Linked DNA regions of Homo sapiens: region 1 is linked to region 2. The links are contacts of gene promoters, found by promoter capture Hi-C in blood cells and fetal thymus (Javierre and others, 2016). All regions are on one chromosome and are shown on one strand. Each heading gives the region's core, a stretch centred on a gene start or on the middle of the fragment in contact. The rest is flanking DNA. Distances are from core to core; before and after follow the strand shown. Region 1 overlaps MIR100HG (mir-100-let-7a-2-mir-125b-1 cluster host gene). Region 2 holds the start of SORL1 (sortilin related receptor 1).

Evidence for each region. Contacts are between HindIII fragments. The CHiCAGO score rates a contact against its expected background, and 5 or more counts as called.
Region 1: a contact is called between a fragment that was not itself captured here and the fragment with the promoter of SORL1 in region 2, in 1 of 17 cell types (monocytes). The highest score is 5.4, in monocytes.

What each region holds. Positions count from the first base shown.
Region 1 is chr11:122,253,556-122,259,321 of GRCh38, reverse strand. The region is part of intron 2 of MIR100HG (mir-100-let-7a-2-mir-125b-1 cluster host gene); the gene reads left to right. Among named protein-coding and RNA genes, the nearest start is that of MIR100, 100 kb to the right of the region's middle. The HindIII fragment of the contact is 5,931 bases long and covers 1-5,200 here.
Region 2 is chr11:121,447,424-121,453,807 of GRCh38, reverse strand. It overlaps SORL1 (sortilin related receptor 1), which reads right to left and starts at 1,494. Exons shown (of 48, transcript NM_003105.6): 1 at 1,192-1,494. The coding sequence starts at 1,476. SORL1-AS1 (SORL1 antisense RNA 1) reads left to right here and starts at 841. Exons shown (of 3, transcript NR_183636.1): 1 at 841-1,133; 2 at 3,909-4,112. RefSeq lists enhancers at 658-707, 728-797, 838-887, 898-1,087, 2,478-2,537 and 1 more and silencers at 1,378-1,427, 1,558-1,607. The HindIII fragment of the contact is 8,160 bases long and covers 738-6,384 here.

The DNA.
Region 1 (5,766 bases), core at 986-3,485, 800 kb before region 2:
TTAGAGCTGGATGACTGGCTAGTGAATGAGTGATGGGTAAATGAACAAACGTGTACAAAAAAGCCAACAGTGCGCATAGCTTGCCACTATGTTTTCATGGGATTAGGTGATTACCAATTCTTAGCTAGTCTGGGGAATTTTTGCTGACCTTACTTGATTGTCTGGGAAGGCTTTCCCTGGCACACTCAGATACAGCTGTCTGTTCAAATATGATCCAACAGGAGCTTGGTTTGTCAAACACCAGAAGCTGGTAGACTTGGTCTTTTTCACATCTTTAAGCAACAGGAAATGAGTATTACAAAGAGTTGCTCTGAACCACCTGCTGGCAGTCACTATTTCCCTAGAGCCAGTTGAGTTAGAGATATCTACTAGATGCAATTTGGTTTATCTGATTTAATTGGCAATATTACTGGATGGCTGGAGGGGGTTCACCTTCATCTCTGTGGCAGAATCTGGCTAAGTCTTACATGACAAAGGATTTGAAGGTAGCTGCTCTAGGGCACGTGGGCTTAACTGTGAAGGTTGCTAAATTATCATTTCCTCTGGGTCTCATAGAAAGAGGAACAATAAGTGGACAGGCTAGAGCTGTAGTCTTGATAGCTAGCCCTAGGAGTAGGACAACTAGAAGTGGGATAGTCACTGCACTCTCCTTGTCCAGGGCTTCTGGTTGTTGGAGAGCAAAGAGCTTTGGTCTTAAATGTGGTCACATTCACATTGTTGTCTGATGCAGTCACAGATAATTAGTGGCAAGTGTTTTATTTGTTGTTCTTTGAAGGACAGAATTTCATGAAAGTCACTGAAAAATCAAATCAAATGAAATATTATTCACACCAGGGACACAATTAAAGGCCTTAAAAGAATAGTGCCATTTTGTTTGGACTTCATGAAGCCATCAAAATGCTAGGGAAGGAAGAGCCCTTCTTCTACCTCTTTTCTTCCTTTTCCATCCCAATCTTGTACCTTGAAAATTTTGATGTAGTCCAAACTCTGTAAGGATCAATGTAACTGCAGCATTAGGGGACTCATAAGAGAGAACAGGCCAACAATAGTGGTGATCAGCAAATGAGATCCATGAGTTCCAGGGCAGCCAGAATTTCGGTCATGAAACAGAGGAGAGACATGATTAGCAGCATCAGAGGGGAAGCTCAGCCCTTTAGGACAAAAATGTGAACTGCCAGGGGCCCAGAGATGGGCTTAGAGAAGCTGAGCGCCCCACAGATTTGCCAGGGGGACACTCAGTGTGTATCTCTCACCCTCTTCCATTCTAACATTCTGGCCCTTTGAGGTCTGAGAAACTGACTTATACTTAATTACTTATTCATGTGGCTGCATTGTCGCCTGTGTAGAAGTAAGCATCTTATCTCAGATTTTTCCTGATGCCTTTGAGAGAGACAGAAGGTGAGATGAAAGGAAAAAAAGACATGCCATCACTTACTGCCCTTGAGGAGTTTCAGTCATGTCACAGAAGCTGTAGGCACAATGTTGACAGAAGTGCCAGAATCGTCAATTCTAAGAGAAAAGGTTGGATGGAAAACTTCACTGAAGGCTTGGCTGAGACCTTGATTCATATCAACTGTTATTAGAGAAGAGCTCCTTCACAAAGCTATGCCATGGCGCCCCTGAGGAGCATATTTTTCAGGAATGTGGACCTGAATATTCATTAGAATGTACTTTCATGTGTTTTCTCATGACTGAATAAAAAAAAAAATCCACAAGTGCCCTCAGAGAACCTTTTCTATAAGATGTAGCCAAAGCAGGCAGAGGTCTCATACAAGTGTTCTGAGAAGAAGATGAGGGCATAAGATGCCAAGAGTTGATTGAAGGAGTATACATAACCCACACTATTAAGAAGTCACACTTGACTGGTTGCAAGCTAATGAATGAATTGAATAAAGTAAAACAAAAGTAAAGCATTTAAACACATGTTAACATGTATGCAAGCACACACACACACACACACACACACACACACACATGCACATATTATTTGACTCAAAAGTCTGTTAGTTTCCATATTGGAAAAACTTAACCAATCAATTCATATTAATTAGAAGGCAAAACAGATATAGGAGAAACTGATTTCATGCATCTGATGTCAGAGATGGATTGAGCACCAAATAGTCATCCACATATTGGCATTGTTGATAGGTTTTTGGAATATCAAAAATATAGGTCCTCAAACTACATATGAATAGTAAGTGTTTGGAATAAGAGTTCCTCATATTTTAGAATCATTATGTGCTTCATCTTGACTGAAGAGTTCCATTAAAGCCAAGAATGATGCTTTTGAGACAAGAAAGCAAAGCAGAGATTCTCTTACCAAAATGTAACCAAGAACTGCCTTGGAGTTTGTTTAAATGGCAGATCCCTCAGCCTCATAAAGAGAGATTAGGATTCAGAAAGCATCGAGTAGGGCTTCAGAATCTCATCTTTGCACAAGTGCTCAGATGATTCTGGACCATTGATCTATGGTCACCATCACACTAATGGAAAATATTAATTTAGCCATTTCCAATGTATTTATTCTGTGAAAACTAATTGGAACTTCACATGTGCCAAGCACTGTGTCCAGGAGACACAGTGAGATAAATAATTACACCGTTTCTGTAATCAAGAAGTTCAGGGTTGAGTGGAGCTTAAGTCTTTAGAGGGCAATTTACTTGTTGCTACCTCTCATTGTATTAGTCCGTTCTCACACTGTTATAAAGAAATACCCAAGACTGGGTAATTTATAAAGGAAGGAGTTTTAATTGACTCTCAGTTCTGAATGACTGGGGAAGCCTCAGAAAACTTACAGCCATGGTGGAAGGTGAAGGAGAAGCAAAGGCACATCTTGCATGGTAGCAGGCAAGAGAGAGAATGAGTGCAAGAAAAACGACCATATTTATAAAACCATCAGATCTCGTGAGAATTCACTCACTATCATGAGAACAGCATGGAGGAAATCACCCCCATAATCTAATCTCTTTCCTCCCTTGACACGTGGTGATTATAATTTGAGATGAGGTTTGGGTGGGGACACAGAGCCAAACCATATCACTTATCCTATATCAAATAACATTAATACCATAACAAACTAAACTGAGGGCAGACATGTGTCTCATTTGTGCCCACGGGGTTTTAATTTATGGAGATTACCAAGTGGTGACATGGGGAAGCTCATGCCATGGAAAGAACATTTTTCTCCCTTGCATTCCCAGAGAAGGGCCATGTCATGCTACACAAGTGCACATGGGGAGCACGAGTATTGGTCACAAGGCAGAAAGTGGAGAGAGGAGAATCTAAGCCAAAGCCTCTCTTTATGGGGTTTCCAAAGGAAAGGCAAGGCAGGGCAGAGTAAGCAGTTTTGGACTGGCTAGTTTGAATAAAATTCTAGAGGGCTTCGGGCTATAGGGGTAGTCCTTAGATGCCTAGTATCTGGCTGTCTTTGTCATTTTAATGTTGCTATAACAGAATACCGGAGGCTGGGTCATTTATAATTTATAAAGAAAAGAGATCTATTTGGCTCATGATTCTGGTGGCTGGAAATTTCAAGGTTGGGCAGCTGCATCTCATGAGAGCCTCATGCTTCTTCAACTCATGGTGGAAAGTGGAAGGAGGGAGAGTATGTGCAGAGATCACATGGCAGGAGAAGAAGCTAGACCCTTTTTAACAACCTGTTCTCATGGGAACTAACCTATTAGCAAGAGTGAGAACTCCCTCACCTTCTCAGAAGGACATTGATCTGTTCATGAGGGATCCACCCCACTGACCCAAACACCTCCTACCAGGCCCGACCTCTCAACACTGCCACACTGGGAATCAAATTTCAACATGAGTTTTGGCAGGAACAAACCACACCCAAATCATAGCACTGGTCCTGGGATGATTTAGGGCAGAAGAAATATTGGCTTTGTATGTGAGAGTTAGATAAAGGGGGTGGTCGGCTTGCATATGAGAGACATGCACTCAAGTAACTTGTTTACTATCTTTAGGAATTAGCTAACCCTGGAAGGGACAGTCTCTTTTTGGGTATGTAAGACCCTCAAATGCCGTAACATCAAGAATATAGAAAATTTAAAAACGTAGCAAATATAATTGGCCCTGTGCTGAATGGATGCCAAATAGACAAATACAGAATCTAGGAAAATGCAGAATAACACAATATTCTCTAATCATGTTTATTATATGCAAATACCTTAAGAAATGGCAAAAGCAAGGTTATTTGGCATAAAGCAATTAAATGTGAATGTTGTATGACATAACCTGCAATCTACATCCACCATCTAATAAAGCATTTTTCTAAAATAAATTTGGTAGCTTAGATTTGATTACTTAATACCACAATCCAGTTCTATGCTGCCTGGGTCTTATCTCATCTCTTTGAATTCTTTTCCAAGTGGTAAACTAAAATTTTTGCATAGAATGGAGAATTGAGACCACTGGTTTACCACCCACTGGAAAAAATTAGTGCCTAAATCCTATAAAACAAGTTTTGGCTAACCAAGACAGAATGTGATAATCCAGGTCATTTATGAAATACGTTAAACTATTTGTGTGAGCAGGCTTAAGGCCTTATCTTGGTACCATAGAAAGTATATTGTTCTCCATTTTGGGACTATGGAATCCATGGCACCAATTATTTTAAGTAATCTTTTTTTTTTTTTTGAGATGGAGTCTCGCTCTGTCATCCAGGCTGGAGTGCAGTGGTATGATCTCGGCTCACTGCAAGCTCTGCCTCCTGGATTCATGCCGTTCTCCTGCCCCAGCCTCCCGAGTAGCTGGGACTACAGGCGCCCACCACCACGCTCAGTTAATTTTTTGTATTTTTAGTAGAGATGGGGGTTTCACCATGTTAGCCAGGATGGTCTTGATCTCCTGACCTTGTGATCTGCCTGCCTCGGCCTGCCAAAGTGCTGGGATTACAGGCGTGAGCCACCGCACCTGGCCTTAAGTGATCTTTTAAGGTTACACCGAAAGTTAGTTGCAAAGCAGGGTATATTTCTACTCATGTGTACTCTCTATTAAGAATTTGCTATGAAACGTCCTTTATGTTTTCCCTTGACCAAGTTTCCTGGGGGAGGTGGGAATGACTAAGATATATGTCTATGAAAGAATGAATATTGATGATATATTATGTAAGGCTCAGTGAAAGTTGTGAATTCACCAGATGCTTGGAAAGTCAGCAGCTTCTCTATTATGCATTTCCTTGGCTTAAGCTTGGAGGTTTTCCAAAAAAACAATTGCAGAAGCAAGAGGGAGGACCTGGTATGAGGAAGTGTGTGTGTGTCTGTGTGCATGTGCATGCATGTGCATGTGTGTCTGTGTGTGTGTAAACTCGAACTTGTTTAAATGATAAATGTGTGAGCAACTTTCAAATCTTCCTTAAACTGAATGATGAGCTTGAATTTTACAGGAAATCAAATTAGAAGCTGAAAAAAACCTGGATTCTTACTTCTAAGCAAGCTGCCCTCTAGGCAGTCATTTATACGGGAACCAGGTCCTTACTGCTAAGTTTGCTTAGCAACACATTTTCTTGATGACGGTTCTCAAAGCAGAGGGAAGTGAATGGAGGTTTGATTAACCACAGGCCATAATGGCTATATCAGTTTCTTTTGTAAGTGAAAGATTGTCTTTGCATATTCATAAGGGGGGTGTCTAAGCAGCACCGCTGGAGCTGTCAAGGCCTCTAAGCTGTGTTGGATTAGTAAGTGTATGGGAGGCCTCCCAATGGGTGGCCCTGGGGACATTTTTTCACAATCAAGGAATTCAGATTGTACAGAATTT
Region 2 (6,384 bases), core at 245-2,744:
CCTTCCCGGTATGACCTTGGACTAGTCACTTCACCATTCCACGCTTCAGTTTCTTCACCAACAAAATGACACAATAGGGTGATATGTTTACAAGGTTCGTCCTGGATCCAAGGGTTGAACATTTAACTCTGTATTTCCTGAAGAAATGGCTAAAGTGAAATTAGTGAGAAAAGGCAGAACTCAGGGTAATCTTTTATTAATAATTTCTACTTCAAAAGGAACAATTTGACTCTAGAAAACAAGTGTATTTACCCCCTCCTCTGGTCCTACTTTTTCTCCCCCACCGACCTTATACTTTTGCTGATGTCAATCTTAACTGCAGGACTGGGAGTCTCATGAGGCAATAACACGGTCAAATTAATTTTGCCAGTGCTGATCCTAACCTACAAACTCCATCTGCAATTCCTCGCAGTAAGTCTGACCATAAAAGTGAAATTCACGTTACTTATGATCTAATAAACCTATTGCCTGGGTAGAAATAAATCACTTATAGAATAATAATGCCCACCAAATTTCCTGCAGTCCTTTCAAATCTCCAAGTGCCATGAGGGGTATTCCTCTCCAAAATAAAGTTATCTTGACGGGGGTGGGAGAGTCAGCATCTTGAAGGGTGGGGAAGAAGGAATGGAGAGCATCTCACACGCTCGCCAAAAATTAAAAATTAAAAATTCAGCCTTTACACACGCACACACATACACACACCTCTTGTCTGACTGTACAGAGATAGTCGACAAGCTTTCAGGTTTGCCCACTTTTATTGTGCTAATAATGCTAAGTGTGGAAACCCCCACCTCGTGCTGTTCTGTGTAAGTGTACCGCAACTGCAGGGTGCTCGCCTCCACTGCCAACTGATGATACACTAAAGAAAGCCCGTTTTTTATCCAGATGTAAAATGAAGCTGCACCCCTCCTATACCTGCCGGAAACTACATCTCTCTGCACACACCCTGGGGTAATACGCACTGCACCCGGCGAGTTACCTGGAATACGTTTACTAAATCGACAGGAAGAAGGAAAGATCAATGCGATTCAAGTGCTGACGGTTGTACTCGTGAAGGAAAAAAACAAATGCAAGCCGGGAAGTCCCCAGTGGTGCCTGCACCTAGGAGGCGACTGCAACGGATGGATGCGGGGGTGAGGAAGTGCAGGGAGAGGAAAAAACTGGAGGGAGGCGGGTTGCAAAACTGCTCACCTGTCCGTACACCTTGATGGGCTCGGGCTGCAGGGCAGCGCTCCGTTTCCTCCGGAGCGGCTTCTCGTCCGCGCGGCTCGCCCCCCTGGCATCCCCGCGCGCCCACAGCCGCAGCTCGCGCGGGTCGCCCTGCACCACGAGGAAGCCCCGGTCCTGGGGCAAGGGCGCGCTGCCGCCGTGCAGCCTCTGCGTCCAGACTTCGCAGAGAGCTCCGGGCGGCAGCAGTGCGACCAGGGTGAATAGGAACGGGAGTCGCGACTCCCTCCTGCTGCTCCGTGTCGCCATGTTCGGGCGAACGCTACTGCAGGTGGCGCCGCCGCCAGGAGAGAATGTGCAGCGCGAGGCCAGGAGAGCCGCTGGGCCGGGACCGCGCGCGCCGCTCCCGGGGCTCCAGGCCGCCCGCGCCGCTCCGGGCCGCCCCGCTGCGCCCGCCGCCGCTGCCGCCAGGTCCCGCTCGGTTCGGCGCGGCGCCGTCACGTGTGAGGCTCGCAGCGCGTCCCTTTCGCGCACTTTCTGCGCTCGGCGGCCTCGGCGGCGACTCCGGCCCCTCCCTGGCGCGGGGATGGGGAAGTTAAGGCAGCGAGCGCCGGTGGGGGTGCGTCCCTTCCCTGGCGGGCACACCTCCTTGTTCTCCCTGCAGGAATGAAGAGTTGCATGGGGCTCGCTCGTTTTCTCTGGAGTTAGTTGCGTCCTATACAGGGTCGTGTCGAGGTCGTCCTAAACCGTGGCCACTTTCCTGAGTGCACAGCCCGCAGTAGCGCCACAAGACCACCTCCCCCCGGCCCCGGCCTCATCCCCACCTCCAGGGAAGAGTCCAGAGCCACAGAATTAGCTCCTAGAACGCAACCAACAAGAGTCCAGATGAACCCGCTCTATTGGGAAACTCACAGTTTTTCATCTACTCTGGGCACCACAACGTATTTGCAGGGGCCACAGCAAAAACTACCCTTGATCAAGCTACGTGCCCCAGCCTGAAGCACAGCAAATAAACATCCTGCACAGAGGCAGTAAAAACAAGGGTACATCTGACAAAGAATGCACCACACCTGGACAATTATTACACAGCTATACAGGGTGTGCTTGCACGCACGCATGAATACCTGTGCGTGGCACAGGGCCCCAGCGGCGGCTTGCTTATGATCCCTCCAAGGTGACCAAGCACTGAGCCACCCTGCCTCAGCAGTAAAATAGACATATTTACCAGTCCCTTCAACCCACAGCCAGGAGCTAGGCAAACACCCACAGAGGAGGGAGGACACACTTTAACCCTACATTCAGCTTGACGAGCCAAACTCTCTGAACCACAGGAGATAAAACTTCTGCCATGGAACTGCTAAGGTACGCCCAAGGAAAATATTTTTTTTGCAGGTTAGTGGGAGCAGCCAAAGTCTATGTACTACTGCAACCTTTCCTATTTCATTTTATGTTTCACTGCCCTCTGAACTCAGATCCTGGTTTTTGATAAGAATAAAGACACAGCAAGCAGGGCTGAAAGGGAGACTACCTTTATAGTTGCATACAAGCTGCTGTTCAGGGGAAGGAAGGGATGGTCAGTTCAATTTTCTAAAAACATTCCTCATCTCCGACAAGCCACGGTAGCCCGATTCCTACCCCGGCCCACTCTAGTACTTTTCAGGTAGCTTAGCAAAGCCCCCTCCTCTACCTAGGACTACCACTGACAACCTGCCAGAGTCAGGCCAGCTTGCCTCATCTCCCTGAAGCCAGTATTCAACCACCCTACCCTACCCCATGCCAGACTTGCTGGGGACCTCTGCCTCAGGTTCTGCACTCTCCCACCTCCTCCCACACCCGATTTTCTCCCCAAGTCAGATGATGTCTTTCTGTCCATCTCAACATAATTACAGAACCATCCAGTTCTCCCCACCAAGCAAATCATGCATTCTCTATGTTAACCACCCTGCTTTGTTCATTATACATTGTATACAGGTATCAAAATACCACACTTTCCCCAGTGTGGTATTATTGGGGTGCCTTCATCCTGCACCCCAACTTTGATGTTATTTCAGAGGGATTGAGGAAGTGGTAGCTTGTTTACAACCCAGAGCTGGTTTTGAAGCTGAGAGGAACGCCTTGCTCATATTGTGCAATTCAGCTCTAACTCATATATATAACATATATATTTATTATATACTTATATATGTCAATTAAAAATAATAATTCAAACAATCATGCATCCTCCAAGAAAGCCACTGAACCACTGTCACCTCCCACCCCTCATCTAGATCAGCTCTGTCTGGTCAGCATCACCTTACCAGGAATGGACAACCCCATGGTCTCTCAGGACCAGCAGCAAAGATATCTCTACTCCCATTTAGCCCTCAAAGGAAAATGAAGGGAATATGGCTAAAGTGAGAACATCCTGTAGATGATTCAATTATTGGGGTTTTTCCAACATATATTTAATGAGAACCTTCTCTGCAAGAGCAAGTGTCAGAGTCCCAGCAGAAAACAGAGACAGGAGTCTCCTAAGTGTGGATTTGAAGATGGGCATCTGTTTGCCCACACAAACTGCTGGCTTAAGGTTCAGATGGCCCCTTGCACAGAAGGACTAGTAGGGCAGGGCCAGCTACTTGCTCATTTTGATGTTGATTTGCAACTTGAATGCTAGAGAATTGGTAAGAATATTCAAACATGGTTAATTAACTCCTTGCAAGCCCTCCTATCTAATCATTATCTACATTCCAAACCATTCTCAGGTAGATAATCAGCAACCCCCCAAGACTGTGCCTGCTGCACAACTACAGAACGCAGTGGAAGACACGCTGAATTCTGAGTCAGAAGGTTGACTTTCTAGCTGTGGGGACTTGGCCAAACCTCCTCAGAGCTTCAGTTTTCTCATCTGTAAAATAGAGATCTTAATCCCTACCAATCTCACAGGACTGCTGAGAGTATCAGATGAGGTAAGTATATAAAATAGCTGTGCAAATTTGTGTGAAGGCCTCCAGAGAGAAATAGTGCATGCAGGTGGCATTAGAAACATAGATTCTAGTCCTGGCTTTGCAACCAAATTATTATGTAATTTTTTGTCTTGATCATCTTGTCTCTTACGATTTCTTCATAAGTTAAATGAAAAGACACCTTTCAGCCCTGACCACTCCCAAACCTTCAGGACCCCCACTGGGTTGTGAGATAGGAGCAGCCACAGGCAAGGTCACCCAGGACAGGAGTTAGAGCTGAATCGTGCAATATGAGTGAGGTGTTCCTCTCAGCTTCAAAACCAGCTCTGGGTTGTAAACAAGCTACCACTTCCTCTATCCCTCTGAAGTAACATCAAAGTTGGGGTGCAGGATGGAAGACAGTACCATATCCCCCTCTGTCCCATCTTGCATGGCCTTGCTCGGATGCTGCCCAGCATCATGACGAAAATCAACATGCACGGAAATGTAATGATAGACTCACAGCTGTGTATAAAACAGTCTTAAGCCTGTTGTCAGACTTTAAACTGCCCTCCTCTGTCCTACTGCCCATCTTAGGCCACTGGAGATGGAGGTAGAGGACAAACACACAGAGGTCACAGTGTCCTACATTTTTATCCAGGTGGAGTCATGTTTAAAATAGCAGCAAGGACAGCCACGAAGAGGAAAAAACTCCCCAAAGCCTAATTTGACTTCTTTCTGTTCTTTCTCTTCCTGTGGCCTTCTCACATGCTCACCTCCTGGCTGGCCAACTTCTATTCAGCCTTCAGGTTTCAGAGCAGCCTCCTTAGGCACCTAGGCTAGGTTACAGCCCTCACTCTAAGGCTCTAGTCCCCTGTAGCCTTTGATACTTCCTCTCTGGTCACTTGCTTAATCTCCATCTTCCTCTTAATCTACAAGCAGCAGAATGACAAAACCAGTCTATCTCATTCAAGTCTAGACGCCCAGTGCCCAGCATACTCTTGGCACATGGTGGCACTCAATGATATTTATAGGATGCATGCATTTAAATGAAGGTGAGAAGTGACACCACCTTTGTCCTGGTGGCAATGGTTGGTTAAGGGGCCAATGTAGTTGAATCTCAGATCTTTTCTTACCACCATCTGCTTCCCACCTCGTTTTCTCCCCCAAAGCAGGCCTCTCTGAGTCACGCAACCAGACCAGAGTCATTAAAGCAGAAAAGGGACTTCCCTGCCCTTAGGATGGTAAACATTGTTCCCTCTTCCATGTTACTTTGGCCAAATAACTACCATTGACCTCACCAGCTCAGGCAAAATAGAAATACCCGCCTGCCCCCAAAGAAATAACTCCTTCTCCTGCTGTTGCCAAAATCTACTTCAGTTAGGAAAGCGTCCAAGATAATTGATGAGGTTTAAAATACAAATGCACCCAGAGCATAGAATAAGTAACTTATATTCTCACTCTTGATTAAATTAAATCCAAAGAGGAGTTTCTGGAAATAGCAGTAAGTTATTTTGCATAGCAGTGATTTACATTTGCATAACATTATAACAGCATTATCTATCTCATTCCATCGCACAGCAACCCTTTGAAGTGGGCCAAAGCGAGAATTATTGTCACCCCCATTTTACAGACCTTAAGCATTGAAATTCAGAAAGGAAGACTATTTGCTTTGCCTAAAGTTAAACAGGCTTGCTAACTTACTGTTAGTAAGGGATAAATTTGAACCCAGGCTCCCTTTTTCTGCCACATCTGATACCTCTCTTAGGAAGAGAAGAGCTGGTATTTCAAGTCCTGGGTATAGTGGAACAGCGGGAATTAGGGCAGAAAGAAGGAAAGGGAGTGGCTGTAGGCCTCACCTCCTTCACAACTCAGCCCTGCCTTAACCAGCACTGTCTCCCTTCCTAGGTACCTAGCCTAGGTGAGATGCTGTATCTGCTTGACCCTCACGCCCTGATTGGGACAAGTTAGCAGTAATGTTACAGTTACAAAGCTCACAAGTCCAGTCCTGTTTTCTATACTTTTCTAGGAGATGAATTTAGCGAGGGATTTGGTTTCCAATGTGTTTCAAAACCTGTGAGAGAGCGCAAGTTTTAGAAGGTCCCTCAGACAGGCACAGTGACTTATGCCCTTAATCCCAGCACTTACAGAGGCCAAGGCGGGAGGATCGTTTGAACCCAGGAGTTCAAGACCAGCCTGGGCAATGTGTCGAAACCCCACCTCTACAAAAAATACAAAAATGAGCCAGGCATGGTAGCACATGCCAGTAGTCCCAGCTACTTAGGAGGCTGAGTGG